2 separate regions of the Homo sapiens genome follow, and region 2 is linked to region 1. Evidence: promoter capture Hi-C in human tissues and cell types (Jung and others, 2019). All regions are on one chromosome and are shown on one strand. The core of a region is centred on a gene start or on the middle of the fragment in contact, and the rest is flanking DNA. Distances in the headings are between cores, read along the strand shown. Region 1 holds the start of KCNH3 (potassium voltage-gated channel subfamily H member 3). Region 2 overlaps RHEBL1 (RHEB like 1).

Region 1 (3,095 bases), core at 300-2,799:
GACTGCCCTGCCAGCTCTGGGCCAGCCTCAGCCCCACCTCTACTTCTGCCAGGCTCACCCACTAGCCAGGTACCCAGGTTGGCTGTCTGGCTTCTCCCACTGAGACACACCTAGACTGGAGGCAACCCCAGACCACCATACATCCTGCTGTCTGTGTTTTAGCCCTAGCTGCCTGACCTGGCTCAGGAATTAGTGAATGTGATCAAGAATGGGGGTGTAAGAATGGTGACTGAGCACGGGAGCCAGGAGCCAGGAATGTATTGGGGAGTGGGGGGCACTGAATCAGCAGGCTGCAGGAGCCAAGCACACTGGCAAAGCAGATGGAGGAGCCCGGAGTGGGGAGAGCGCAGGGCTGGGCTCCCACCCCCTATCAGGAACCGGAGACCAAGGAGGACCTAGGCAGAGAGCTGGGAAGCCCCACGGGGGATGTGAGGGAGAGGAGGAGGGAGGGGCTTTCATCACTTCCCCTGTGCTCAGAGCCCCCAGAACCGGGGATCCAGAGCTCGGGGCGCCTTCTCCAAACTTCCCCAGTCCTGATGGGAGTCCCCAAACCATCTTCTTGGGGCTAGATGGCCTCCCCAAGTCTAGGGGGTTCAGGCTATGAGACACGGGGCTTGGACACACGGTGCTCTCCCGAGTGCCGCCTACTCTTATCTCCGTTTGCAAATCTCTTTTCTAAATCTGTGTTTTGAGCCCTCTCAGCTGTCCCTGAGCACTGTTCACCCGCCTCGCCTTACCCCACCAGTCCGAGGGTAGTTGCTGCGACAGCGCCAGACGCAGGGGTGGGATGGGTCAGACTGACTAGGTTCGGGTTCGAGACCCGGCTAACAGAGAGCATCCCAGGACCCACACCCAGGGACTTCTGGCCCTGTTGCCTCGCCTGAAGCAGTGTTGACCCCGAACCTTCGAACCTTCGGGGAAACAGCGCCTAGCAGGAGACGATGGCCCCAGCCTCAAGAGGGGCGGGTAGGGAGGAGAGGGTGAGAATAGGCTGGCGCCAAGCTGGGCTGCTGGGGGTTCGGGGAAGGCGGGAGCCCTGGCGAGGGTCCGGCGGCCCGGGTGCAAGTGGGCGAGGGTCGGACTCACGCGTGCCGTCGAAGCGCGTAGCGATGGTGTCCAGGAAGGTGTTCTGCGGCGCCAGGAGGCCCCGCATGGCCGGCATCTTAGGCGCCCGCGGCTGCCCGCCCCATCCCTCCGGGGTGCGGGGACTCCGCGCCGGGGGAGGGCGCCCAGCTCGGCCGCCCCCCGCCGGGCCCCGCGCTCCCTAGCGCAGCCGTCGGGGGGCAATGCGCAGACCGGGATCCGGGGTCGCGCCGGACGCTGGCGCGCGAGGGGGCGTCCGCGCCGTCGGGGCCCGGAGCATGGCGCGCGGCCCCTCGCGCCCTCGCCGCCCACAAATCCCGGGCTCCAGGCCCCGCGGCCGCCGCGCTCTCAGCACCTCCCGCCGCGGCAGCGGCTCGCGTGTCGGCTGCGGGTGGGCTTCCGCTCGGCTTCGCTCGGCGCCGGCTCTCGGCAGCTCCCTCCGTCTGTCGGGGAGAAGCTGCAGCCTCCCTCCCTCCCTCCCGCGCCCGCCGCCTGCACCGGGGTAACCATGGAGACGGGGCACACCCAGCCAGGGCCGCCTCCTTAAAGGGACAGGCCTCCCGCGGAGGGCTCCCCTCCCTTCGGGACCTCGGCGGGGGCGGGGAGGTGGCGGCCGCCCTGATCCCACCCCGCGGGCCTCCCCGCCCGTACCTCGGAGAACCACTGGCGAGCGGCCGGCCCCCTTTGGCTCACTCGGCCTCAGCCGCAGAGGGGAGGCGTCTTTCTCTGCAGCCCGGGGGCTCTCCGAGAGCCTCCTAGCAGCCTCTCCTCCCCCGGCGGAATGGGAGGGGGGCTCGGGGCGTGGGGGGCAGGGGACGCATGCTGTGGAAGATGCTCTCCCCGAGGAAAATGCAGTGGGCAAGGGGACAGGGCGACAGGCGCAGGTGAAGGCCCTGCGGCCAGCGGAGGCCGGCGCTCTAGAGGGGCTCCAGCCGCACCCGGGAAATCTAAAAGCAGATGGGGCGGGGGTTCTGCGCGCACAGCTGCCCGGCCCTCGAGACTTTCTCATCCTCAACTTGACGCTCTGGAAAATGGATCCAGCTGCTCCTATGAGGTGTCTCCGCAAGCAGGAGCTGCCTGGAAACCAGAGGGTGGGTAGCCCTAGGAGTAAGGGTCAGACGTCCTCCGTGTGACCCCGTGGGCGGAAAGGGTGTGTGGTGGGGAGGGGAGCGCCAGACCCCTTGTCCTGCCCCTCCATTTCCCTCTGGCATTTGTCACCTCTTGCCTCTCCTAAGCGCGCTAGAGGGTCAGGTGGTAAATACAGGGGACCGGCAGGGGTCAGACACTGCGAAAAAACTTCCGAACCTTGTGCGTGCGGGTCCTGGCACCAGGAGAGCGAGGAAGGCCGAGCCCCGCGCCTCACGCAGCTCGTCCTGGAGAGCTCCGCGCGGCGCCGCGCGGGGTGCTGCCCTGGGGCGGCTGCAGGGAGCCCCTTCCCGGCGGGGCGGAGCCGGGCCCGGGGCGGCCGTCTTTTCTTGGCCTCCCGCGCTGCGACGGTCCCCCGGACTTGCCTGCCAGCGCCGCTCCTCCTCCCTCCCACGATTTGCCAGCGAGCGCGGCTGCCGCCCGCGCCCAGAGGAGCCGCCGGGGCCAAAACAGCAATTTGTTCCCTAACGAGCGAAGCGGTAGGCTCAGCACCCCCATCCCTCGAGACGCACTCACAGTCACCAGCATCAGAAAGATGCTACCCCTCATCAGCGACGAGAGCCAAAGCCCCAGGCACCTGTATCTAAATGAGCTGGCGCTTTGGGAAGGGAGGACGCGCTCCTCCTTCTCCGGTCCTGTGAAGCCTGGAATCTGGTCCCCAGGACGAGGAGTGACCCTGAGGAGTGACCCTAAGGAGTCGGGAGATCCTACTCCCATCTCATCCCCAGCCTTGGCTGGATCCTGGCTGTAAAGTAATCCCCTCCCCCAGCCGTTCAAGGCTTCCTCTCCAGGCGGCGGTCCAGCTGTCTACTAAAAAGAAGGACATTTTAGGAGTCAGTTCACTTTGAGACAGGATAAGGCCACAA
Region 2 (3,095 bases), core at 223-2,722, 470 kb after region 1:
TGTGGCTCATCCGTAAAGTAGTATTAAAAGCATTTTACCTGCTAACAGTATGCAGGGCTCATTGGAGCTGTTCCATAAATACATGTTGAAGTGACTATAGTAGGGCGTGCCCCAGGGAGGGTCACCTGGATGTTGTCCCACCAACCTTTGCCATCTTAGTGGTTTGGATCTAGGTACTGATGTTTCCCATTTCTTGCCAGGATGAGTACAGCATTCTGCCCTATTCATTCATCATTGGGGTCCATGGTTATGTGCTTGTGTATTCTGTCACCTCTCTGCATAGGTAAGTGACCAAGGTTGTGAGTGCGGGACTTGGGAGAACCTGAGGACTGTCTCATAAAGTTATAGCTCCAATTCTTGTGTTTAAAGCTTCCAAGTCATTGAGAGTCTGTACCAAAAGCTACATGAAGGCCATGGGAAAACCCGGTAAGTGGCCCTGGGGGATAGGGACATAGTGTGGGCATGAGGGGGTGGGAGAGAGCAGAGGGGAGAATTGTCAAGTTAGAGAGGAGGCTCGGATATAGATCCTGCCTGGTCTGATAAGGAGTCGTCCAGCCTTGATGTAAGGAGTTGGGGAATGCGGGGAATGAGGGGATTCTGAAGTAACTGCTGTTTCCTCACAGGGTGCCAGTGGTTCTAGTGGGGAACAAGGCAGATCTCTCTCCAGAGAGGTATGTAAATCTCTGCTACTCAGAGCAAAAGGAAGTGAAATGGACTGGGAATCAGTCAGGCTCTCATCCTGGCTCTTCCACTGACTCAAACAAGTCATTTCACCTCTCTTTGTCTCTAACCTGAAGCTTAAGGAAGATAATACTTCTATCTTAAAAGCCACAATTTCATATTTCAAGCCTCAGTCCTAGATTCACCCATTGTTCCTTTGTTTACCTATATTTTCTCCTTCCACAGCCCTCCTCCCAAAACTTGGGGAAATGGCATGGGTCAGAGAAAGTCTTTTTCTTCTCTATTTTTTTTTTTTTTAGACGGAGTCTTGCTCTGTTGCCCAGGCTGGAGTGCAGTGGTGTGATCTCGGCTCACTGCAACCTCTGCCTCCCGGGTTCAAGCGAGTCTCCTGCCTCAGCTTCCCAAGTAGCTGGGACTACAGGCGCGTGCCACCACGCCCAGCTAATTTTTTGTATTTTTAGTAGAGACGGGGTTTCACCATGTTAGCCAGGATGGTCTCGATCTCCTGACCTTGTGATCCACCCGCCTAGGCCTCCCAAAGTATCGGGATTACAGGCACAAGCAACCGCGTGTGGCCCATTTTTTTTTTAATAGAGATGGTGTTTCCCTGTGTTGTCCAGGCTGGTCTTGAACTCCTGAGCTCAAGTGATCCACCACCTCGGCCTCCCAAAGTGCTGCATTACAGGCATGAGCCACTGTGCCTGGCCAGGAAGTCTTGATTCTGAAGATTTTTCAGAGCACTTACTGACATTTCTATCCTCCATCTTTATGTCCCAAATTTGCTTCCAGAGAGGTACAGGCAGTTGAAGGAAAGAAGCTGGCAGAGTCCTGGGGTGCGACATTTATGGAGTCATCTGCTCGAGAGAATCAGGTGCTGGGCCTGAAGACTAGAAGGGTGGTGATGGTAGCTGTGTTTTCCTTATTGTACTGCTTGGTGGTGGGAATGTTGCGGGAATGGGGCTTTCACCCCAGAGCTGGGTGGTATTGGCACTGAACTGACTTTTGCCCTGAATCCTCTCCTCTTATAGCTGACTCAAGGCATCTTCACCAAAGTCATCCAGGAGATTGCCCGTGTGGAGAATTCCTATGGGCAAGAGCGTCGCTGCCATCTCATGTGAGCCCTTGGGTGTGGGGTAACTGCCTTGCTTCTGCCCCCGGCACTTGCCATGTTCCAGTGGGGGGCAGATCCTCAGGACTTCACGGGTATGGTTGCCAGCTGTGTTCCTGGCCCCTGGACACACAGTGTGGCATCCTCATGTTTGCACACTTTCCCCAGGCTCCAGTGGCCTGGATGTCAATGTTTACAAAGGGGCAAGGACCTCTCATGGACACTGGCCTCTAGCCCTCTGTTTTTGTTTGATGAATTCTGTTATAACCTATGGGGTCAGGATATGAGTCCTGGGCATTATTTATCCAGGACCCATCCTCTTGGGTGGGTTTTGGGTGTTGGCTGGGTAAGGGGAGCCGGGGACTTCTGAAATAGAGCTGGCTCCCTGGGGTGACAATGTATATATGCAAATAAATTGAGAAATCTTTTGTTGTTGACTTCTTTTTCGTGTGTGTGTGTGAGACGGAGTTTCACTCTGTTGCCCAGGCTGGAGTGGTGCAGTGCTGCAATCTTGGCTCGCTGCAACCTCCGCCTCCCAGGTTCAAGCAGTTCTCCTGCCTCAGTCTTCTGCAGGCACCCGCCACCATGCCTAGCTAACTTTTTTATTTTTAGTAGAGATGAGGTTTCACCTAGGCCAGGATGGTCTCGAACTCCTGACCTTAAGTGATCCACCCACCTCAGCCTCCCAAAGTGCTGGGATTACAGGCGTGAGCCACTGCCCCCGGCCTTATTTTATTGTTGACTTCTATGTATCTAGTGAGAGCTCAGAGCCAAGATCTCTTTTTCCAAGGAGTGATGGCTGTGGTCTTTGGTGGGATATCTTTCCTCCTACCTTGTTCCTATTCCTTATTCCTCACTTATTAAGGACCATTATCCTAAGATTTACTACTTGCCTTTCCCACCTTTCTATTCTGCTGGGTTCCTCATATACTAAGTCCAGTTGGCTGCCACTCCCATCCAAGTTTTGTAGCCTTTCAAGATCCCCTTAATTACAGAAACACCACCCTCTAGTGGCCAACTGCAACATGCTGACCTAGCTGTCTTCCTGGGGCCTCGGCATTTGCTTGGATTCAAAGATGATGGGGTTTCAGGAGAAGAAAGGAAGCCCCTCATTCCTAATGATGTAAGAATTGAGAAGGAGTGTAGAGGCAGAGACTAAAGTGTTGTGAAGACTTTGACTTCCCAAGAGTGTTGAGTAAAGTAAGAAATAATGCCTCCGGTGCATATCAGTCCCCTGGCCCTCCATGTCCCCAGTGTCTTCCATTAAAATGGCCGTTCTTTGCTGTTTTCATACCTTTAATCTTTT

The links. The method cuts DNA at HindIII sites, captures the fragments that hold promoters and counts their contacts. A contact is called where the count stands out against the background at its distance.
Region 2: a contact is called between a fragment that was not itself captured here and the fragment with the promoter of KCNH3 in region 1, in 1 of the 25 tissues and cell types used here (dorsolateral prefrontal cortex).

What each region holds. Positions count from the first base shown.
Region 1 is chr12:49,537,484-49,540,578 of GRCh38, reverse strand. KCNH3 (potassium voltage-gated channel subfamily H member 3) reads right to left here and starts at 1,549. Exons shown (of 15, transcript NM_012284.3): 1 at 1,087-1,549. The coding sequence starts at 1,162. RefSeq lists enhancers at 620-1,429, 1,430-2,241 and silencers at 1,559-1,738, 2,469-2,588. The HindIII fragment of the contact is 20,416 bases long and covers 1-3,095 here.
Region 2 is chr12:49,063,807-49,066,901 of GRCh38, reverse strand. It overlaps RHEBL1 (RHEB like 1), which reads left to right. Exons shown (of 8, transcript NM_144593.3): 4 at 201-283; 5 at 370-426; 6 at 624-671; 7 at 1,471-1,552; 8 at 1,710-2,226. The coding sequence ends at 1,799. Among named protein-coding and RNA genes, the nearest start is that of KMT2D, 4.6 kb to the right of the region's middle. The HindIII fragment of the contact is 1,778 bases long and covers 584-2,361 here.